Linked DNA regions of Homo sapiens: all the other regions are linked to region 4. Evidence: promoter capture Hi-C in 16 types of primary human blood cells and fetal thymus (Javierre and others, 2016). All regions are on one chromosome and are shown on one strand. Each heading gives the region's core, a stretch centred on a gene start or on the middle of the fragment in contact. The rest is flanking DNA. Distances are from core to core; before and after follow the strand shown.

What was found. Contacts are between HindIII fragments. The CHiCAGO score rates a contact against its expected background, and 5 or more counts as called.
Region 1: a contact is called between a fragment that was not itself captured here and the fragment with the promoter of ERCC4 in region 4, in 13 of 17 cell types (M0 macrophages, monocytes, M1 macrophages and 10 more). The highest score is 10.3, in M0 macrophages.
Region 2: a fragment that was not itself captured here is called in contact with the fragment with the promoter of ERCC4 in region 4 in 11 of 17 cell types (M0 macrophages, M1 macrophages, erythroblasts and 8 more); the score reaches 14.7 in M0 macrophages.
Region 3: a contact is called between a fragment that was not itself captured here and the fragment with the promoter of ERCC4 in region 4, in 10 of 17 cell types (M0 macrophages, M2 macrophages, M1 macrophages and 7 more). The highest score is 18.3, in M0 macrophages.
Region 5: a contact is called between a fragment that was not itself captured here and the fragment with the promoter of ERCC4 in region 4, in 1 of 17 cell types (M0 macrophages). The highest score is 6.9, in M0 macrophages.
Region 6: a contact is called between a fragment that was not itself captured here and the fragment with the promoter of ERCC4 in region 4, in 2 of 17 cell types (monocytes and naive B cells). The highest score is 8.0, in monocytes.
Region 7: a contact is called between a fragment that was not itself captured here and the fragment with the promoter of ERCC4 in region 4, in 2 of 17 cell types (M0 macrophages and monocytes). The highest score is 7.0, in M0 macrophages.

The regions. Positions count from the first base shown.
Region 1 is chr16:14,299,803-14,303,147 of GRCh38, reverse strand. It overlaps MIR193BHG (MIR193b-365a host gene), which reads right to left and starts at 1,767. Exons shown (of 2, transcript NR_170633.1): 1 at 1,617-1,767. RefSeq lists silencers at 44-283, 189-349, 634-1,123. The HindIII fragment of the contact is 3,766 bases long and covers 1-3,236 here.
Region 2 is chr16:14,280,532-14,283,741 of GRCh38, reverse strand. No RefSeq gene overlaps it. Among named protein-coding and RNA genes, the nearest start is that of TRT-CGT2-1, 3.8 kb to the left of the region's middle. RefSeq lists an enhancer at 1,455-1,956. The HindIII fragment of the contact is 6,943 bases long and covers 1-3,210 here.
Region 3 is chr16:14,258,764-14,261,999 of GRCh38, reverse strand. It overlaps MRTFB (myocardin related transcription factor B), which reads right to left. Exons shown (of 17, transcript NM_001308142.2): 17 at 1-1,091. The coding sequence ends at 556. Among named protein-coding and RNA genes, the nearest start is that of TRT-CGT2-1, 26 kb to the left of the region's middle. The HindIII fragment of the contact is 1,284 bases long and covers 908-2,191 here.
Region 4 is chr16:13,918,652-13,921,944 of GRCh38, reverse strand. ERCC4 (ERCC excision repair 4, endonuclease catalytic subunit) reads right to left here and starts at 1,791. Exons shown (of 11, transcript NM_005236.3): 1 at 1,573-1,791. The coding sequence starts at 1,779. All of the region lies in intron 1 of LOC105371093 (a long non-coding RNA gene), which reads left to right. LOC124903647 (a long non-coding RNA gene) reads left to right here and starts at 1,867. Exons shown (of 2, transcript XR_007065001.1): 1 at 1,867-2,266; 2 at 2,362-2,480. RefSeq lists enhancers at 1,338-1,547, 1,588-1,947, 2,158-2,207. The HindIII fragment of the contact is 6,939 bases long and covers 1-3,293 here.
Region 5 is chr16:14,316,308-14,319,351 of GRCh38, reverse strand. The region is part of intron 1 of MIR193BHG (MIR193b-365a host gene); the gene reads right to left. Among named protein-coding and RNA genes, the nearest start is that of MIR365A, 8.5 kb to the right of the region's middle. The HindIII fragment of the contact is 3,035 bases long and covers 1-2,769 here.
Region 6 is chr16:14,355,946-14,359,073 of GRCh38, reverse strand. No RefSeq gene overlaps it. Among named protein-coding and RNA genes, the nearest start is that of LINC02130, 13 kb to the left of the region's middle. RefSeq lists an enhancer at 1,824-1,873. The HindIII fragment of the contact is 5,355 bases long and covers 1-3,128 here.
Region 7 is chr16:14,339,449-14,342,533 of GRCh38, reverse strand. No RefSeq gene overlaps it. Among named protein-coding and RNA genes, the nearest start is that of LINC02130, 29 kb to the left of the region's middle. The HindIII fragment of the contact is 2,245 bases long and covers 371-2,615 here.

The DNA of each region.
Region 1 (3,345 bases), core at 104-2,603, 380 kb before region 4:
ACGCGCCAGGGCTGCCTGCTTCTCGGGGGGAGGGAGCTGACAACTTTAGGGGGCGGCGGTAACTCTCTGGGGACGGTGGTTCCCGGCTAGTCCGGGATCCCCGGGGCCCGGCCCCCGCAGGCGCCGCCGCCCATGCCAGCGGGGCTCGGGCGCACGTGGAGCGGCGGGCGCGGCCGGCCTGCTCCGCGCGCGGCATTGAGATCGGGGTCACGCAGCGAGTCAGTTTCCCGAGCGGGCTTTCCGGGGTGGGGGCGGGGACGCGGACGCTCCACCGCCTCGTCAATTTCCAAGCCCAGGCACTAGGGAGGCTGGGGGCGGCCTCGCCCCCTTCCTACCTCCCGGCTTCACACGCCCCTCTGGGGAGCGGGGGAGGGGTCCGAGGGGGAGCCGGGGTGGCGGCAGCGGCGGCAATCGCAGCCCAGACAAGCGTCTCGCGCCGAGTCCCGAGAGAACCGCGCGCTCCCCCGCCGCCACCTCCCCTCTCCCGTTCCCATCCACCCCGCAGACAGCCGCCCCACACCCCTTCGGCCCTGGGGGCTTGGGCACCCACCTGCCGCGATCCCTGCCTTGGCTGGCGGAAGGTGCCAGGCGGGAAGAAGGGGAGCACTCACCGCCGCTGCCGCCTCCGGGGGTGCACGGGCCCCCCCACCCAGGGCTGCGCCTTCCCGGGCTCCGGGCAGGCGTGCGCCGGGCGGGGGGCGCCCCGCGGGCCCTGCAGCCTCCGCCTCGATTGGAGCCCAGCCTTAAATCCTCCACCGTGGAGAAGAAGGGTACTTCCAGAAAAAAAATCCGCCCCTCCCCAGACGAGATCCAAGTGATGGGCGGGGAGCGTAGAAAATCCTTTTCTGCAGAGAGCGCGCAGCCGACGGGGCTGCACCCGGCCTCCACGGTCCGCTGCCGCCACAAAGCCGCGCCCCCGCCCCCCCCAACCCCCCAGCGCCCTATGGCCGGCCCGGGGCGGGGGCTGGGCCGGCCCGGGGTTGGCCGCGCTGGGGAGGCGGCGGCGGCAGCGGCCCAGGCGGCGGGGCGGCTCCTCCCCGGCCAGGCAGAGAGGGCGAGAGCCTGGAAGCCTAGCGCGCCCGCCCGGGTGGGGGTGGGGGTGGGGGTGGGGGTGGGGGTGGGGGCGGGGGCCGGGGTGGGGGGGCGCCTTCCTAGAAACGCTCGCCAAATATAGTCAGCGGATAGGGGCATTCCTAGAAATGCGGCGGCGACGTCAGCCTCGACCCTGGGGGCGGGGGGCAGAGCCCGGGGTGCTTCAAACAGGGGGCACGGAGGAGGGGGAAAGAGTCCCCACTTCCAGTACCACCGCAGCCCACAGACGGAACCGAGGCCGGGCTTCCCTCCCGAGGGGCGTGCTGGAGTCCTCCAAAGGCGCTTGAGGTATCCGGGAGCTAGGGGCGCATCCACTGAAGATTCAGACCCGGTCTGTCCCCCTCTTTCGGGAACACCCAGTGCCAATGCCAGCTGGCGCTTTTGGCCCTTCCCCCAATTTTCAGCACCCCCCGCTTCCCCCGCCGCACAAACACACACAACCCCCGTGAACAAACAGTAAAAGTAGGAGCAGCATCAGGCAGGTTCCCCAAGCCTCTTACACCCACCCCATGACGGTCTCTCACCTCCTCTGGAATGGCTGGAGTCCCCTGGATCCCCCAGGGTTGAAATTGCACAGACACACTGTGTTCCCAAGAACTCCCCCAAATACCAACCCAGCTTCGGGCCAGAAAATAAAGTTGTGCTTCCTCCTCCCCAGTCCAATGTCACTTTGTTGCTGCTTCCGGGGCTAAGGGCTCTTGGAGAGGTGCTGGAACTTGGGGGTAGGGCACAAGGGTGTCCCCTCCACCTGGCAAAGATCTGGCCTCTGGTGCTGACACTCTCACCAGCCATAGCTGTAATACTTTTCATTTCCCGCAGTAAGGGAGATGCCCCCCCCCAGCAGCTCATCCCCTTCCTAAAATCTTCCCCCACCCCCACACCCCTGCCCAGGGACCCCCAAATCCATTGCAGAAGTGGCCCCTCTTTCGCAAAGAGAATCCACATAACTGAGACATGACTTGTCCCTCTCCACCGCCCAGCCTCTCTGCGCGAAAACGTGACTGGCCTGAACCTCCCAGGATCATAAAAAATGTATTTTGCTGTCCTCTGTTGGCCAACACAGGTCACGCTCATAAAACACACCACCCAACTTAGCGGGCAGTCCTGATGCCACAGAGGAGGTCCCAGGGACCCCAGCCAAGGGGAGCGAGCTGGCCTCCTCTCCTTCTGCCTGTGGTGTCCCTGCCCTCTCCATCCTCTTTCTTTCTTTTTCTTTTTTTTTTTTTTGTTTGAGACAGAGTTTCACTCCTCTTGCCCAGACTGGAGGGCAGTGGCGCGATCTCGGCTCACTGCAACCTCTATCTCCCAGGTGTAGGCGATTCTCCTGCCTCAGCCTCCAGAGTAACTGGGATTACAGGCATGCGCCACCATGCCCAGCTAATTTGTGTATTTTTAGTAGAGATGGGGTTTCACCATGTTGGCCAGGCTGGTCTCAAACCCCCGACCTCAGGTGATCCACCCGCCTCGGCCTCCCAAAGTGCTGGGATTATGGGTCATCTTTCTTATCTTGCAGCCGACGCACAGGACTTGCTCATGTCCCCTTTTCCTCATTGGGCCTTAATTCCAGAAATCTGGAGGGATTTCTTCCTTGCTCTAGGGGAGGCAAGGAAGGCTGTGTTCACTCTGGACCCGGGGTCGGTGGGGCACGGGGGACCTTGGGATGGTTTTTCCAATAGCAACTTGGAGAGGAAATGTAGCACAAAAGGCAACAGCTGATCACTGATAATAACAGTCCCCATTCCCCCCCACCCCGAGACCTAAGCACATGAAGAATAGTAACTTACTGAACTTACCCATTTTCCAGATCGAAAGACTGAGGCTAGGCCAGGCACCGTGGCTCATGCCTGTAATCCCAGCACTGTGGGAGGCTGAGGCGGGTGGATCATTTGAGGTCAGAAGTTTGAGACCAGCCTGGACAACGTGGTGAAACCCCGTCTCTACTAAAAATACAAAAAAGTTAATGGGGTGTGGTGGTGAGCACCTGTGGTCCCAGCTACTTGGGAAGCTGAGGCAGGAGAGTGGCTTGATCCCGGGAGGCGAAGGCTGCAGTGAGCCAAGATTGTGCCACTGCACTCCAGCCTGGGCGACAAAGTGAGACTCTGTCTCAAAAATAAAAATAAAAAATAAAACAAAAGACTGAAGCTTAGAGGTCAGTTGTTCATGGAACTAACACCTGCTGGCCCTCTGTGTGCCAGGCACAGAGCTGCTGCTAGAGCCCCCAGAGCTAAGGTGGTAAACAGCACAGGTCCCTGC
Region 2 (3,210 bases), core at 564-3,063, 360 kb before region 4:
TTTGGTGATCAAGCCAAAACCTTCCATTTCTCGGTCATAAGGAATTGGCCATTGTTCACTCTTACTGAGAAACTTTAAGCAAACATTCCCTGTGCCCTGACAGGGTCTGTGGTCCAGGTGAGGTTCTGTTGTCACACAACTGTGACCCAATCCCAGGCCTCCCAAATGCTAGGGTGAGAAACCAGGGTTGGCTGAAGCAGAGGGTGGTTTCAAGGGACTAGAAAGGCGGTGTTTTAAGTGAGAAAATGTCAGAATTGATCTGGTGACAAAGCCAAGTGCCATGATGGAATACTTTTGATCTTTTTGTTTCTTCTGTATAATTAAGTTGCCTAGATCTGAATAATTTATAAGCATCCACTTTTCCTTTGTGTTGAAACTTAGGCACTCTTTTCTATTTCAGAAACAAACAAAATATATACATATATATGTCTTTAATCTTTTTTGGCTTTTTCTGGCACCTCTATTTCCCTGTGCCTGTCTGTAAAGTAGAAATTCTTAGGCCGGAGGTGGCTCATGCCTGTAATCCTAGAACTTTGGGAGGCCCAGTTGGGTAGACTGAGCTCAGGAGTTCAAGACCAGCCTGGGCAACATGGTGAAACCACGTCTCTACTAAAATACAAAAAGTTAGCTGGGTGTGGTGGCACATGCCTATAGTCCTAGCTTCTCCGGAGGCTGAGGCAGGAGAATCACTTGAACCCAGGAAGCGGAGGTTGCAGTGAGCAGAGATGGAGTGAGACTGTCTCAAAAATTTCTTAACCTGAGCCCATGCACTCAAGCCCAGGAAACGTGTGACTTCCCCAAAAGTATATATAAAGTGCGTATATAGTTTTCCTGGAAGAGGGATGTCACAATTTATTGGGGTTTTTGTTTTTGTTTTGAGACAGTCTCGCTCTGTCACCCAGGCTGGAGTGCAGTGGTGCAATCTCAGCTCGCTGCAACCTCCGCCTCCTGGGTTCAAGTGATTCTCCTGCCTCAGTCTCCTGAGTAGCTGAGATTACAGGTGCGTGCCACCACGCCTGGCTAATTTTTGTATTTTTAGTAGAGACGGGGTTACACCATGTTAGGCCAGTCTTGAGCTCCTGACCTCGTGATCCACCTGACTCAGCCTCCCAATGTGCTGGGATTACAGGCATAAGCCACCGCGCCCAGCCGTTATTAGATTTTCAAAAAGACCTCCTGAGGGTCTTAGAAGGCTGAATGCCTTTTTACTTCCTCTCTCCCTTCCTGATGGTGCCTGATTAACCTAAGCCCTACCGAGATACAATATCTATCTAAAGTGGTTTAGCTACAGCTGTGGGTGTCTGAAAAATTGTTTCTGAACAATTCAATGGCAATGTCTCCAAGACACTTTCTGGCTCCAGGGAGGACCTGGGCTTCCCCCAGCTCCTCCATCCTGGCTCACCTTGTGTGCCTGGTGCCTGCTGCCTTCCACAGAGTGAGGGTGGGCAACAGAGGCTCTTCCTGGCCTGTGAGGGGCTGGCACCTGCGTTATCTCAGTAAGCCTTGGTGGTGGCTGGGTGGCACCTGCAGATTTCATGAAAATGCAGGCTGATTCAGTTAGTCTGGGCTGGGTCCGCGGAGCTGCCTTTCTAAGTTCCCAGTTAATGCTGCTGCAGCTGGTCCAGGGCCTCACTTTGGGAAGCACTGCTTTAAAGTATTCCTGGAGAAATTCGTTTGCTTGTGGAAGAGAAAAAACCCTCAGGCTTGGATATTTAGGTCATCTGAGGTCATGACAGCGGGCTTTTTACTAACACCCTAAATAAAGATTTTACCTAAAGAAAGCACACTTAGCTACTCACAGTATCCCAGCTCCTTGAGGCAGGGGCCCTGTGTTGTGAGGGATGGGCAGGGTTCTTTTTGTTTTTTAAAGAGACAAGGTCTTGCTCTGTCACTCACGCTGGAGTGCAATGGCATGATCATAGCTCACTGCAGCCTCTAACTCCTGGGCTCAAGTGATTCTCCTGATTCAGCCCTTGGCTCAACTGGTCCTCCTGCCTCAGCCTTCAGAGTAGTTGGGACTATAGGCACATGCCACCATGCCTACCGGGCTAATTTTTAATTTTTATTTATTTTTCGAGACGCAGTCTTGTTCTGTCACACAGGCTGGAGTGCAGTGGTATGATCTTGGCTCACTTGCAAACTCTGCCTCCCAGGTTCAAGGATTCTCCTGCCTCAGCCTCCCGGGTAGCTGGGATTACAGGCATGTGCCACCACGTGGGCCCAGCTAATTTTTGTATTTCTAATAGAGATGCTGTTTCACCATGTTGACCACGCTGGTCTTGAACTCCTGACCTCAAGTGATCCGCCCACCTCAGCCTCCCAAAGTGCTGGGATTACAGGCCTGAGCCACGTCGCCTGGCCCTAATTTTAAAATTCTTTTGTAGATGTCGGGGGTTGGGGGGGGGGTCTTGCTATGTTGCCTGGGCTGGTCTTGAACTCCTGGGCTCCAGTGATCCTCCTGCCTTGGTCTCCCAAAGTGCTAGGATTACAGGTGTGAGCCACCATGCTGGGCCTCAGCACCATTTGTTGAAATGATTACCCTCTCCCCATTGAATTGCCTGGGTACCTTGGTTAAAATTCAATGAACTGTGTGTGGTCTATTTTTGGTCTTTTTATTCTGTTCTGTTGATCCATATGTCCATCTTTATGGCAATTACCACCAGTCTTGATTATTGTATATTTATAGTGGGTACAAAATCAAGTATTGTAAATCCTTCCACTTTGTTTTTCTTTTACAAAATTGTTTTGCCTATAATAGATCCTTTGCATTTCCATATAATTCCTGGAATCGGCTCATCAGTTTCTATAAAATGCCTTCTGGGATTTTGATTGGGAACGCGTTGAATCTACAGATGAATTTGGGGGAATGGATGACTTAACAGTATGGAATCTTCCTATCCATGAATATTTCATTTCCCCATTGTTTGATGCTGATGCCTGTGAGTCTTTAATTTTGAATTCATTTCTTTGGAATTTAATTATGTGAGTTTCCTGTGATTTTTTTTTTCAGTGGAGGAGTAGTTGGAATGATTATGGTAACTGTATTCACCTCCTTTTAACAGTCTGTCCAAGTGAAAATCCCTGCCACATGTGGGAACTGTGTCAGCCCTGGCAGAATGCAGCAAGATGGGTGGTCTGTGTAACCAAAAATCTTCTGGCTTGAAAAGAGAGGTGATGATGATTATTTCAACACCCTTAACAAATAATGGC
Region 3 (3,236 bases), core at 300-2,799, 340 kb before region 4:
ACCAAAAGTCTTCAGCCAGAAGCTGTCACTGAACTGGCCAAGGCTCTCCACTGCCTTTGACCTCTGCTGTGTCTTGGGCCTGGCTCCGGCCGTCTCTAGGAAGTACCAAGTGCAGTGACCTCTCACCTCCCTCACATCAGCCTTAGTTTTTGAGTGGAGCTGTCTGCCTTTTATTTAGGGTCTTAAAGTGACCAGAGATTTAAATGTAGTTAATTACCAGAATCCTAACGTCACTGTGCTGCATATATTACTCTTCTTTGTTTTTATCTAAAGGTACTTTTCATTCTTTACTGAAGTCTGGAGAAATAGATGAGTCGTCTTTGACAAGTGCGATTTTCAGAAGGCCCTGTGCTATGTTAAACTGTAGAAATTCACTACTGAACACAATGAAATGTTTTCAAACTTGGGTTCCAGGCTATGACCTTCCACCTATTCTTTCTGTGACAACATATTTTGATTGCAACAATGCAACTATAGATCTATCTCTAAAAACTGACCTTTTAGAATCTTCATGTTCTTAAACCTCATCAACTCTCAGAAAAGAAATCTGTGACGTTAGTCCCATGGCAGCGGTAGGTCCTGTGGGTCTAGAAAGTCAGCAGAGAACATGCTCGGCGCGGTGGTGCTGAGAGGAGTGAGTCCTGAAGAGGAGTTGGGCATGGTAATGTCCAACCACTCCATGTTGTCCAAGTTTGAGTCTGACAGGTCGAGAGACAGACAGGGAGTACCTGCAGCAAACTGGGTCTCGGAAGTCTCCATGGGTGAGTGTGAATGGTCCAGCATACCTGAGTGACTCAGCAGATCATTCTGGAGGTCCTCGATCAGAGAGAAGGGCTCTCTGTCTTCACTGCTGCTTTGTAGTGGAGGAATTTCATTGGCTGAGGGTAAAGTTCCATCCAAGAAAGCTTCTAGTTGGTTCTCTAAGCTGGCAGATAAACTGCCCATAGGTTCTAAAGATACAGGTGGTGCCATTTGGACTTGGGGTGGTGGCCGGGACACCACTGTATTCACTGGCATTGTGGTGATGCTGGCTGTCACTGGTCTCATTTTGGAAATAGGAGAAGGTTCTTCTTTTATGGGGAGGGAGATCTCTGTGTAAAATAAATGAAGTAATTAGTAACTGAAGATTTACTACTACTTAAAAATTTTTATTAATTACTAGGACAGTTACATTGCTATTATGCGATTCCTTCTATGCACGTCCGTCTTAGAAGTAGGAAGAGAATGCTATTGGTCAGGTACAATCCTTGACAACCTTTAGGATGATGGATCATTTTAGTCAAATAGATAAACATAAAAGTTTATTACATTCCTTTTTGTTGTAAATTTAGTCAGCAGACTGTCCAAGACCAGTTTATTACATTCTGATATGCTTTAAATTCTTCTCAGTAAGACTAAGCATTAAAAGCAGTTATATCTCACTAGATAGGTATCAATGGTTTTAGATTATTTTATCTTTGAGTCGTTATTTTGTCATTAAAGTTTTAAGATAGGGCTCATATCATCCTATGAATCTATCTATAGCAACATGATACTCCTAATATAAATGTTGAAATGTACATCCTGAGTTTGTGCTGAGACATGAAGTACATCCTCAATGTTATGAAAGAGGTAATTACATTCTTTTTTCCTTTTTTTTTTTTTTATCATTACAGTTGGACTGGGTACCCAATTTAGCCATGTGCATTCTGTGTAAAGTTCTGAAAATATACAATGACATTTGATTTCATTTCTGAATTAAAGCTAACATATGGTTCCTTTGATCCTTTTCTTTTAAGGTGAGGTGGATCACTTGGTTATCTCTTTCACTTTTTGGTCTTGTTTTCTGAGCTTATATAAAATTTTGATGATTTGGTAAATGTCTTCATTATGTGTTATTCCTTGCCAGATCAGGCAGCAAATTAACAGACCATCTTCTATAAATACTGGCGTTCACTAAACTACATAAATGAATGAAGTATCTTAAGTTTTATGAGGCTATGATTGGTTTCATTTATATGCAGATACACTAGGAAAAATAAATTAACAATACCTCTTAAAGCTCAATGATTGCTATGTGCAAATGGCTGAGAGAAGGAACTTAAAATTTGATTCCTATAAATGAATTGTCAACTGTGTGTACTGCATTTATTTTTGAATGGTTTGTTACTTTTAATTATCAGTAGTCATCTCTAAAACTGTTTTGAAAGCTTTAAGTGTCATCTAAGTAACTAGTCTTTTTTATTTTTATTATTTTTATTTTTTTGAGACGGAGTCTTGCACTGTTGCCAAGCCTGGCTGGAGTGCGGTGGCATGATCTCAGCTCATTGCAGCCTCCACTTCCTGGGTTCTGGTGATGCTCCTGCCTCTCAGCCTCCTGGGTGGCTGGATTACAGGTGCCCTCCACCATGCCCAGCTAATTGTTGTATTTTTAGTTTCACCATGTTGGCCAGGCTGGTCTTGAACTCCTGACCTCAGGTGATCCGCTTGCCGTGGCCTCCCAAAGTGCTGGGATTACAGGCAGGGCAAGGCACGGTGTCACAAGTAACTAGTCTTGTAACTATATAAAACTTGGTTCTCGTTATTACTGATATTAGTAGACAAGATGAAATAATATACTTACTGGATACTTTGTCATTAAAAAAAATCTCATTTTAGAAAATAGCTTGATTGTGTCACATTTTAATTTCCAAGTTTAAGGTGCCTGCCACCACACCCGGCTAATTTTTGCTAATTTTTGTATTTTTAGTAGAGACGGGGGTTTCACCATGTTGGCCAGGCTGGTCTTGAACTCCTGACCTCAAGTGATCCACCTGCCTCGGGCTCCCAAAGTGCTGGGATTATAGGCATAAGCCACGGGGGTTGGCCGGCTGAAGTTATTTTTGTAAGGCCAATATAATTCTTAGCAAAAAATACTATTTGTGTGTGTAGATCTGTAGTCAAATATCAATTCTCTATGTCAACGTCAACTTCAGTGTCAAATAATACCTGCTATAAATGGAGAACTTCTGACCACTATTTGAAAATTCAAATAAAACTCCTTTCATCAGGGTAATTTTAAGACTACTCCAAATATGCAAATACTATCCAGGAATTTTTTTTTAAATATTGATTTTTATACTTCAAAGATATGTAAGCTGAGGCAACAATATCCTTGATTCTTTTTGTGGCTAATGTCTCTTTTTAATAAAGATGATATAAATCTAAGACTTCATATTATATTGTAGAAAATGCTTTAGCATTGACTTTGAATTTTA
Region 4 (3,293 bases), core at 542-3,041:
TTCTCTGAGATAATGAACTTAATAATGAATATACACACTAAGTTACTTCTTTATAGTAACTTCAGCCAACCAGTCTACATTTAATGAGGTTTTCTTGTTTTGGGGTTTACACTAAGGAATAATTGCACTTCAGTCATTATCAGCACTCAACTACAATAACATATGCACACACATACAAAACCTCAAACTTTTAAAAGCCTGGATTAAAAGATTTCTGCTACCTAGAAAATACTTCCCACCAAAGCCAGGTTTGTAGCCAAGCACATTCTATGAGATGATAACAAGGGAATCCTTTCCCCAGACAATGTTTTAGACTATCAGTTCTGTGCTAATCTATCCTAGAGGGACTTCATGTCACTGGGTCCCTTGGCTTGGTTTATTTATATCCCCAGTTTAAAACCATCTTTACTAGGCCCTGTGTGTTGCCTTAGGCCCTATGCCAAGCACTGGGGATACCTAGATGAATCAAACAGGATCCCTGCCCTCAAAGAGACTGTGGTCACTCTTCTCAGCTGACATTTTTCTCCCGGCCACCTGATATATCTAGGGGATCATCAGACTTGTCCGACCAAGCTGTGTCCCCTCTCAACACCCCTCAGACCCATGTGTAGCCCCATTCCATCTTTCTCAGTGTTCTCCATTGTCCTTAACTGTAGTTAACCTTTGCCAACATCCTCAGCGTCAAGCTCCAATCCCTTTCTGACCCTATGGCCCTCTTAACACAGCCTTGGTGAATGTCCTATTTCCTGGTCCCTCCTTTTCCCTATTGGGGTTTTTCCAGCGCCTCAGCATCTCCTTTCATGTCTCCCCATCACCCTCAGAGATCTTCCATCCTCATCACTGTTCCCTTTCAGGGACCTTCCTTCTGCCCCCAGAAACTCCCTTAATGGCCAACTTCAGGACTCTCCCGTTATTCCTATCCAGATCCTCCTTCCGACATCTCCCCCTCCCCTGCAGCGACCTCCGATCCTCTCCTACCACTCAGAGCCCCTTCACCTTTCAGTGCCCTTGCACCCATGTCAGGGACCTGCATCCTTCTGGGGACCCCTCCCATCCCTCTTAGTGTTGTCAGGGAATTGCATCCTTCTCGGGACCCCTTCCATCATTCTCACTGTGCCTGCACAGTGTCAGGGACCCGCATCCCCTGGGGACCCCTCCCATTTCTCTTAGTGTTCTTGAACTCTGGTCAAAGACTTGCATCCTTCTTGGGACCCCTCCCTTCCCTCTCAGAGTCCCCGCACAGTGTCAGGGACTGGCATTCCTCTTAGTGTTCTTCAACTCCTGCCAGGGACCTGCAGCCTTCTCGGGGCCCCTCCAATTCTTATCAGTGTCCCCGCACGGTGTGAGCGACCGGTATCCTCCTAGCGACCCCTTACATACGTCTGTGTTCCCGCAGTGTGAGGGACCTGCATCCCCCTGGGGACCCCTGCCATCCTTCTCTGTGTCATCGCGTAGTGTCAGGGGCCTGAATCCCCCTCAGAGCCCCTCCATCCCTGTCAGAGGCCTCGCATCCGCTCAGGAGGCCCTCAACACTCTCGGAGTCCCCTCACTCCCGCGCCAGCGCGGCCGCACCTCCTCGGCCGGCTGCGTGTTGAGCACCAGCACCAGGCAGGCTGGGTGGCAGTGCAGCTGGAGAAAGTGGTAGAGGAGCCGGTCCGCGCCGAGCCCGCGGGCGCACACTACTAGCCCGTCAGTGTCGAGCAGTTCCAGCACCAGCTGTCGCTCGTACTCCAGCAGCGGCGCCATGGCAATCCGTCGAGCCGGCTGCCCTGACTCCATGGAAGCTCTTCCGGGTCGCAGCCGAACGCAGCCGAAGGAAGCCGACTCCTAGTGGAGAGTAGGCCGAACTCAACCGAAGAGAGCCGAGTCCGAGAGGACGGCAGCCAGCCGAACGTAGCCGAGGAGAGCTGAGACTGAGATGATCGTGGGCCGAACGCAGCCGAAGAGGAGCCGAGGCCACGACAGGCGCGCTCTCAGAAAGCCGAAGAGAGCCGAGCCTGAGAAGGCAAGCGTTGGCCGAACTCAGCCGAAGAAGAGCCGAGTGGAGCCGAAGATTCATGGAGTCACCTGTAGGGGCTGGCGCCCCCTGTCGGTGTAGCTTGCAGATATCAGGCTCCATTCACGTCTCTTTTGAGTTTCCACATCCCCTGGCACCCTAGCCTCAAGCTGCCAAAAAGCAAGGGAAGGGGAAGTAAGCCTAAGGAGCTTAATCCCCCGACATCGACAGTTGAAAAAGTTACTGGTCAATATTCCAAATGCGCCAAGAGTTAGTAGCACCTGTTTCCTAGGGTGGTTTTTGGCCCTTCCTTTTGCGATTACTCCCCATCCTTCTTTTAATTTTTTTTTTCTTTCCCGAGACAGGATGTTGATATGTTGCCCAGGCTGGAGTGCAGTGGCTGTGGAATAAGCAGAATCATTTACTGACTTCAGACCTCTGTTTGCCTCCCAAAGACTTCAATACAATAAACTATTTTTAAAAATCCCTCCTTCCACTAGAGGGACACCTCCCGCAGTGTTTGTTCTATACCTAGAAATGCCTGATAGTTGAACTAGTAGAGGAATTGTTTTGTATAGAAACCCCCCACCTTTGTTATTAGAAAATAGAAAATACAAGTAAACAAAAATGAAAATCACTTGTTTCCATTACTTGGAAATAACCACTGTTAACATCACGAAATCTATTTTATTTAGTCCTTTTTTTTCTATCTATATACACATTCTCTCATCACACGGAGTTCTTTTACCGACACGAGATAATTAATATCCCTGATTTAAATCCCCAGCTTTGTCATTAACATTTGGCAAACCTCTGAACATGATGTTTCATATTCTTTTACAAAGTCCTTTTATATGGCTGATGAGATTTCCATTATGTGGGTGTACTTACCTAATTGCTTATTAGAGGACATTTAGTCTGTTTCTGCTTTTTCCCTTCCAGTAATATAAATAATATTTCACTAAACATCTTTGTATGTAAATTCAGCCGTGGCCTTCAGATACACGTCTAGAAATGAATAATCACTGGGATAAAGAGAAAAAAATTTGTAAGGCTTTTCATTCCATTCACATTGCCACATTGCCCTCTAGAAAGCCTATACCAATTCACATTCACACTAGCCGTTTCCAAGAGGATCTGTTCCTCTACCTCTTTACTGCTTAATCTGGTATTTTGCTTACATTTTGTCAAGATGAAAATAGCATATAATTCCTGAATGCTGTTTAAGTGGAAAGGGTTGCCGGCAGACACTTTACATACAGCGTTTCCTCTGAGGCAGATATTAATCTCGTCAGTT
Region 5 (3,044 bases), core at 3-2,502, 400 kb before region 4:
TAGCTGACTGTAGTCCCATCCTCTTGGGCTCAAGTGATCCTCTGGCCTTGGCCTCCCAAAGTGTTGGGATTACAGGTGTGAGCCATCACTCACAATTTAAACTCTATAATACAAAGTTTAAAAAGGCGGGCACAGTGGCTCACGCCTGTAATGCCAGCACTTTGGGAGGCCGAGGCAGGCGGATCACAAGGTCAGGAGATCGAGAACATCCTGGCTAACATGGTGAAACCCCGTTACTACTAAAAATACCAAAAATTAGCCGGGCGTGGTGGTGGGCGCCTGTAGTCCCAGCTACTCGGGAGGCTGAGGCAGGAGAATGGCGTGAACCTGGGAGGTGGAGCTTGCAGTGAGCTGAGATGGCGCCACTGCACTCCAGCCTGGGCGACAGTGCGAGAGTCCATCTCAAAAAAAAAAAAAAAAAAAAAAAGGCAATAAAGGCCAGGCACAGTGGCTCATGCCTCTAATCCCAACACTTTGGGAGGCTAAAGTGGAAGGATCACTTGAGCCTAGGAATTCAAGACCAGCTGGCAACATGGCAAGACCTCATTGTTACAAAAGATAAAAAATTAGCCAGGCATAGTGGCATGTGCCTGTGGTCCCAGCTACTCGGGAGGCTGAAGCAGGCAGATGGCCTGAGCTCAGGAGTTCAAGGCTGTGGTGAGCTGTGATTGCACCACTGCACTCCAGCCTGAGTGACAGAGCCAGACCCCGTTTCAAGAAAATAAAAACAAAAATTAAAAATAAAAAGGCAATATATTAAGACTTGCCCCTGGCAGTTCCTCAAAATGATAAACATAGGGTTGCCTTATGGCCCAGCAATTCTACTCTGACCTATATGCCTAAGAGAAATGAAAGCATCTGTTTACACAAAGACTAACACATGAATGTTCATTGCTGCATTATTCATAGCAGCCAAAAAGTGTAAACAACCCGTATGTCCATCACTGACAGTGGTTAAACAAAATGGTGGCCCATCCATAATACAGAATATGATTCAGCTGTAAGAAGGAATGAAGTTCTGATCCATGCTACAGTGTGGCTGAACCTTGAGAACGTCCTGCTAAGTAAAAGGATCCAGTCACAAAGGACCGCATTAATTGTGTGATTCCATTTATAGGAAATGTGCAGAATAAACAAATCCACAGGGGCAGAAAGTAGATTTGTGATTGCTCAGGGTTGGGGGCGTTGGAGGATTAGGATGCGGGAGGGTTCTGGGTTTCTTTTCTTTTTTTTTTTTTTTTTTGAGATGGAGTCTCACTCTGTTGCCCAGGCTGGAGTGCAATGGTATGATCTCGGCTCACTGCAAGCTCCGCCTCCGGGGTTCAAGCGATTCTTCTGCCTCAGCCTTCTGAGTAGCTGGGATTACAGGTACACGCCACCACGTCTGGCTAATTTTTGTACTTTTGGTAGAGACGGGGTTTCACCATGTTGGCCAGGCTGGTCTCAAACTCCTGACCTCAGATGATCCGCCTGCCTTGGCCTCCCAAAGTGCTGGGCCCAGGGTTTCTTTTTGAGTTGATGGTGTTCTAACATTGATTGTGATGGTTGTACAACTCTGTGTATACACTCAAAGACATTGAATCATACATGTTAAATGGGTGAAGTGTACGTTAAGTGAATAATCTCTCAATAAAGCTGTTTAAAAAAAGAAGTCACACCTTCCTCTCTGACCCTCCTGCTAGGAATCCTTTGGCTCCAGCTCTCTGCCCTCTTGGGAAATTCCCTTTCTCTTCTCCACCCTCTCCCTACACACACACACACACACACACACACACACACACACACCCCTGCCATTCTGTCTTAAGCTATTTTCAGCCGGGCATGGCGGCTTACGCCTGCAATTCCAGCACTTTGTGAGGCTGATGCAGGAGGATCACTTGAAGCCAGGAGTTCAAGACCAGCCTGGGCAACGTAGTGAGACCCCGACTCTATAAAAGAATAAAAAAATTAGCCGAGAGTGGCCGGGCACGGTGACTCATGCCTGTAATCCCAGCACTTTGGCAGGCTGAGGTCAGGAGATCGAGACCATCCTGGCTAACACAGTGAAACCCCGTCTCTATTGAAAATACAAAAAAAAAAAAAAAAAAAAAAAAAAAGCCAGGCGTGGTGGTGGGCGCCTGTAGTCCCAGCTACTCAGGAGGCTGAGGCAGGAGAATGACGTGAACCCGGGAGGCGGAGCTTGCAGTGAGCCGAGATCGCACCACTGCATTCCAGCCTGGGCGACAGAGCGAGACTCCATCTCAAAAAAAAGAAAAAAAAAAGCCAAGAGTGATGTTCATCTGTAGTCCCAGCTACTCAGGAGGCTGAGGCAGGAGGATCACCTGAGCTCAGGAGTTTAAGGCTGCAGTGAGCTATAATGGCACCAGTGCACTCCAGCTTGGGCAACAGAGCAAGACACTGATTATAAAAAAAAAAAAAAAAAAAGATTTTTATTCTCAGTTTAAAGAATGGCTTCCACAGGCAAAGTGAACCACTGAGGTATTTTTCTGAACTACCACACTTTCTTTCCTCTTTAAAAGTTACTCAGTTGACAGCTACTAAAATTACAATGTTGAAATCCCCAGGGTATTCTATTGTGGCTGTCACCAAGAAATCCTAATAGATCTAATTTCCAAGAGCTGCAGAATTCCCTCAAAGAAGGAGGAGCCAACCTAACCTCTCCAGAGACAGTGGTCATCTGTTCCGAAACATAACTCTGTCACCTCACAGGTGGGGAGAAAAGAACGTTGCCAGGGCCAAGTTCATGATGTTCTAACTGAAGGATAAGCTTTTGCTCTGGAACAGGAGTCAGGAAATACGGCCTGTGGGCCAAGTTTGGCCCACTCCTTGTTTTTGTGAATAAAGTTTTATTGCAACACACAGCCACATCCGTTTGTTTGTGTACTATCTGTGGCTACTTTTGAGTTAAAATGCCAGAGTTGGTCGGGCACGGTGGCTCACACCTGTAATCCCAGCACTTTGGGAGGCCGAGGGGGGTGGATCACGAGGTCAGGAGATGGAGACCAGCCTGGCCAACATGCTGAAACCCCTATCTCTACTAAAAA
Region 6 (3,128 bases), core at 29-2,528, 440 kb before region 4:
TGTCTGTCCATCCACCTATTTATCCAGCCAGCAACACATCCAACAAATATCTGTTGAGTGCTGACAATGTGCCAAGATCTGCTGGGCAGAGCCTTGCTGGGGAGGTGCAGGGGAAGTGATGAGCAGATGTGGGCTGAGGTTTGCCTCACTCCCTGCCAGGGCCCTGCCCAAAATGGGCACAGACTTGCCCCGGGGGTTCCTCCCCGTCCTGGGCTGCCTGGTCTTGTTAGGAGGGAGGCGGCCCTCACCTCTGGGCTTGGGAAAATGTCCCTGGCATTCTACTCTTGAGAGTGTCACTGTATTAGTCCATTTTTCTACTGTTGTAAGAACTGCCTGGGACTGGGTAATTTATAAAGGAAAGAGGTTTAATTGACTCATAGTTCAGCATGGCTTGGGAGGCCTCAGGAAACTTACAGTCATGATGGAAGGCAAAGGGGAAGCAAGCACCTTCTTCACAAGGTGGCAGGAAGAACTGCCGAGTGACGGGGGGCAAGAGCCCCTTATAAAACCATCAAATCTGATGAGAACTCACTATCCTAACAGTACCGGGAAATTGCCCCCATGATCCAATTACCTCCGCCTGGTCTCTCCCTTGACATGTGGGGATTACAATTCAAGATGAGATTTGAGTGAGGACGCAAAGCCAAACCATATCCGTCACCTACGCAGACAGTGGGTGAGAAAATGCACCCAGACTGCAGAAGGCCACACACTCCCCAGGTCACCTGCCTCCCTCCTGCTCCAGCCTCAAACATCACCCCTTGCTGCCTTTCTATGGACAGATGTGAACTCTGGGCCATCCTCAGCCACTGCTGCTGATCTATTAGCTCTTCTTCCTCATCTCAGGTCTTTGGGTTTCCAGACAAGATGCCAAATATTTGTGCTGCCCCCTGAGCATTTTTTTACAAGATGGGATCTTGCTATTTTGGCCAAGTTGATCTTGAACTCCTGGCCCCAAGCAATCCTCCCACCTTGGCCTCCCAAAGTGCTGGGATTACAGGCATGAGCCACAATGCCCAGCCCCACTGATCTTCTTGTAGCCCATTCTCAACTAGTCCCAGAGCCTCAAGGCAGCCTTTTTAGCTCTTGGGAAAGCCAAAGTTATTGCTAACCTCACTGTGTAGCCCTTCTCATGTCTCTGAACCAGCAAACTTATGACCTGGGCTTATATCTGTTCACTTAGGATGTGAAAATACCAACCCACCGCCTCTCAGGTTCAGAGGGTTCCAGGGTGCAGATGGGGCTGGGTTGGGGTGCCCCCCACTACAGGACCAAGGTGCCAGGAAAGGCAGGGCCACCCATTGGGGCCAAGGGGACCCAGCCAGCACTAGAGCAATGGCTCTACCTGTGATGGACAGAGGAGGAGCCTGGGGCAAAGACTGGGAGGCAGGACTGGGTCAGCCTGGCCAGGAAATAGCAGGAGCCAGGCCCCTTACCCTGCTCCTGTCAGTGGGGTCTTTGTTCCCCCTCCCAGGCCCTCCTTCCCAACACCCATGGTCTGCTCGCTGTCCCCGAGGCCACAGGGCATGGTGCAGAGCTGACATCATTTGATGTGTCTGCAGCAGTCACCGGCTGTGCAAGATGACATTCTTAGATCACTCCAGGAGCTGGTACGTGTGTCCAGGTGAGAGGTGAACTTGGTGACTTTCATAATCAGGAAAAAATATTAAGCTGCCTGTACCCACGCGTTTCAGTTTCCTAGGGGTGTTGTAAAAAATCACCACAAACAGGGCAGCTTAAAGCACCAGAAATGGATTTTCTCAGAGCTCTGTAGACCAGAAGACAGAAATCAAGTTGTCCAGCAGGCCCACTGGGTACACTCACAGGTAGCTGGGGTGAGGATTTCAACATATCTTTTTGGGGAATATAATTGGGCTCACAACACCATAGGGCCCTGATTTTGTTTAAAAACCACATTGGTGGCTGGGTGCAGTGACTCACGCCTGTAATCTCAGCACTTTGGGAGGCCGAGGCAGGAGATCCTCTTGAGTCCAGGGGTTCGAAATCAGCCTAGGCAACATAGCCAGACCCTGTCTCTACAAAAAATTAAAAAATTAGCCAGGCTTGGTGGTGTGCACCTGTAGTCCCAGCTCCTTGGGAGGCTAAAGGAGGAGGATCACTTGAGCCCAGGAGGTGGAGGCTGCAGTGAGCCATACCCGTGCCACTGCACTCCAGCCTGGGCCACAGAGTGAGACCCTGTTTCTAAAAAACTTTTTTAATTTGAAAGACAAAAAAACACACACTTTCATATGTTCCGTTTCTTGATCCAGATGCTTATTACATGGGAGTTTTTGCCCGAAAATTCCATCAAGCTATACATTTATGATCCATGCATTTTTCTGCACATATGTTATATTTCAATCAACGTATTCTAAAGCACACACATGCTGAAAACAGCCGACCTACCATGGGGTTAACAGAGGCCTCCCCTGGGGGGTAGGTTTATGGATTTCATTTTTCTCCGTTATGTTCCAAGTTGTCTGCAATAAGCCTGCATTCACTTTGTGGAATAAAAAATACATGTATGTCATTAAAAAAGTGCTAGAGATGGCACATTCCCTCTCAGATCCTTCCCTGCTCCCAAAACTATTGTAAAAGGAGGTGAGGATTCGAATGGAAATTTGGCTGCCTCAAGATTCTTTCCAAATTAATATTTTTAGCACGATTACGCACCGCTTCAAATGTCCTGCTAATGATATGTTGTCCTGATTATCCAAACTGTCTTTCTGCGGAGTGATTTGTGTGGCTCCAGCAGGAATCTCACCTGTGTCCTCTTCCGGAGGGCGAGGTAATAATAGGACTGACCTCATGGGTGGCCAGGAGGCTTAGCTGGGATAATGCACATGAAACCCCATGCACGGGGCTCTGGCACAGGGGACCGGCTGCCTCAAGTACCCTCCTGATTAGGGAATGCCCAGAGAGCGGCCCAGGTGCCTCAGGGTCCTCGGTTCATGGCTCAGTTTATTTGGGGAAGTCTGAGACCCTCCCCTGTTCCATGTTGTCATCCCTGCGGGATGGACAGGGATGCTGGGGGCTGCCCTTCTCTGGCATGTTTTCCCGTTTTGCTCCCCCACTTTTTAAATTTAAATTTAAATTTTTATTTATTTTGTTTTTTTGAGATGGAGTCT
Region 7 (3,085 bases), core at 244-2,743, 420 kb before region 4:
ATTTGGGACCTAAGGCAGGAGAATCACTTGAACACAGAGGCAGAGGTTGCAGTGAGCTGAGATTGCATCACCGCACTCCAGCCTGGGTGACAGAGTGAGACCCCATTTCAAAAAAAAAAAAAAAAAAAATAGTCTGGTAACAGAAGGGCTGAGATGGGAGAAAAGAGAGCCACTGAAGTAAAGGAAAGATGTCATGGAGGACTCCATGAATGTAGAACTTACTTATTCGCTGGGTATGGTGGTTCATGTCTGTAATCTCAGCACTTTGGGAGGCTGAGGGGGAGAATTGCTTGAGGCCAGGAGTTCCAGACTACCCTGGAAAACATGGTGAGACCCCATCTCTATTATTTTTTAAAGGAAAAAAAAAGCTTACTTTCACTTGCTCAAACCCAGAATACATGAGTCATTGCTAATGGTGGCAGGCATTGTTGGTGACTGAGATGTATCCCATCAACCTGTCCCTGGCCTGGCTTCCAACTTTGGCACTTGCATTTCTTTGCCCGAGGACATCTTCTGACTTCTGGAGCCCATTCAACCCTTTCGCATAGCAGGAGAGAATACTGACATTGATATAGTTTGGCTGTGTCCCCACCCAAATCTCATCTTGAATTCCCATCTGTTGTGGGAGGAACCCACTGGGAGGTAATTGAATCATGTGGGCTAGTCTTTCTCGTCCTGTTCTCATGATATTGAATAAGTCTCATGAGATCTAATGGTTTTATAAAGAGGAGTTCCCCTGATAAGCTCTCCCTTTGCCTGCTGCCATCCATGTAAGAGGTGACTTGCTCCTCCTTGCCTTCCACCATGATTGTGAGGCTTCCCCAGCCACATGGAACTGTAAGTCCATTAAATCTTTTTTTTTTTTTTTTTTTTTTTTTTGTAAATTACCCAGTCTCGGGTATGTCTTTATCAGCAGTGTGAAAATGGACTAATACAGGCATATTAACACTCCCTGGGAGCAGCTTTCAACCAATGACTGGCAAGGTCTGGAGTATAAATACCCCAGCTCTCTTGCCTCTCAGATGAGAACAGTGTATGTTCAACATTATCTCCCAAAGTTCCTGAGTGAGACTGAGCTGCAGTTGCCCACAGAGGTAACTCATTTCATAACACACCCCTGTGGGTGGGCTTCCTTTCTTGACTCTCTTCCCCACTTCCTACCCATGCTTCCTCAAGTCCCCTTTGTGTGTGTGTGTGTGTGTGTGTGTGTGTGTGTGTGTGTGTGTGTGTGACATGGAGTTTTGCTCTTTCCCAGGCTGGAGTGCAATGGTGCAATGTTGGCTCACTGTAATCTCCATCTCCCAGGTTCAATCAATTCTCCTGCCTCAGCCTCTCAAGTAGCTGGGATTACATACAGGTGCATGCCACCATGCCTGGCTAATTTTTTATATTTAGTAGAGATGGGATTTCACCATGTCGGTCAGGCCGGTCTCAAACTCCTGCCCTCAGGTGATCCACCCACCTCAGCATCCCCAAGTGCTGGGATTACAGACATGAGCCACTGCGCCCAGCCCTCAAGTCCCTTCTTATGTAAATGATTTCTATCACTCAAGTCCTTGTCTTATAGTCCACCTCTGGGAGAGGTCAAGCTAATTTCTAATATCTCTTTTCACCCTCCAATCCAATCTCTAAGTCCTATCAATTCTTCCAAAATGCATTTCAAATTAATGTGTTTCTCAACTCCACAGCCATTGCCCTGGCCCAAGCTACCACCATCTTTGACCTAGGTAACTGCACCAACAGCTTGATTAATATCCCTCCTTTCATTGTTGCCTCTCTTTGATCTGTTGTCCATACAGCAAAGGTATCTGTTAAAATCTAAGTAAAATAAGCCAGGCATGGTGGCTCACACCTGTAATCCCAGCCCTTTGGGAGACCAAGGCAGGAGGATCACTTGAGGCCAGGAGTTTAAGACCAGCCTGGGCAACATAGTAAGACCCTGTCTCTAAAAAAAGTTAGCCGGGCATGGTGACATACATTTGTTGTTCCAGCTACTCGGAAGGCTGAGGTGGCAGGATCCTTTGAGCTCAGGTGTTTGAGGCTGCAGTGAGCTATGATTGTACTACTGCACTCCATCCAATTAATTGAATCCACTCAATCAAAAATTAATTTAAAAAGTAAAAAGTAAATACAAATAAAAATAAAGAAAATAAATGAAAAAGAAAACCATGTTACTCTTCTGGTCAAAACTTCCCATTACTTTCCCAACATACTAGGAGAAAATTCCCAACTCTTTCATGTAGCCTCCAAGGCTGGCATGATCTGGCCTGGCCCATCCTTCCTTCCATCTTTGTCTTAACTCACTTTCCTCCCGACTCGCTCTGCTGCAGCCAGACCTAGAAATCTCAGGCTCTGTTCTTCCTTGGGGACATGGCCTGTGCAGTTCCTTTTACCCAGATATTTTTCCTGCAACTCTTTGTATGTTTCATTCTTGTAGACCCAGCTTAGACATTGTCTTCTTAGAGCAATCTTTCCTGATCACATGATCTAAAGTTATTCTACTCATAAATTTCTCTCCTCAGTACCTATTGGTTTCTTTCTCAATACTCTGTGTATTTTGTAATTGTTTGGTTGTTGATTTACTTTTGTCTGTCTTATTCCTGAAATGTCAAGCTTCATGAGATCACAGACCATGTCTGTTGCTCACTGCCACATGCCTCACACCTTGTATGGTGACTGTCACATGGTAGGTGTGCAGCAATTGATTGTTGTATAAATAAAACATTGACGTTAGTGTCTAGGGAACCCACCCCGGGACATACCTCTCTTCACATGGATGACTTGGCAGGGTATTTGTTGGTAATCAGGGACACTATCCTCTTCATCTCTGTGACCACAGTCTCTGCCTCTGAGAGGCCCAGATCCTAGGATGGGAGACCTGGGTTAAAATCCTGGCTTGGCCTCTTATAATGTGTTTGGTCATCTTTGCTGCATAACAAACAATCCCCAAAATGTAGTGACTTAAAAGAATAACTTACTTTTCTACAGAAGTTAGCTGGGCATGGTGGTGGGTGCCTGTAATCCCAGCTACTCGGGAGGCTGAGGCAGGAGAATCGCTTGAACCCAGGAGGCAGAGGTTGCAGTG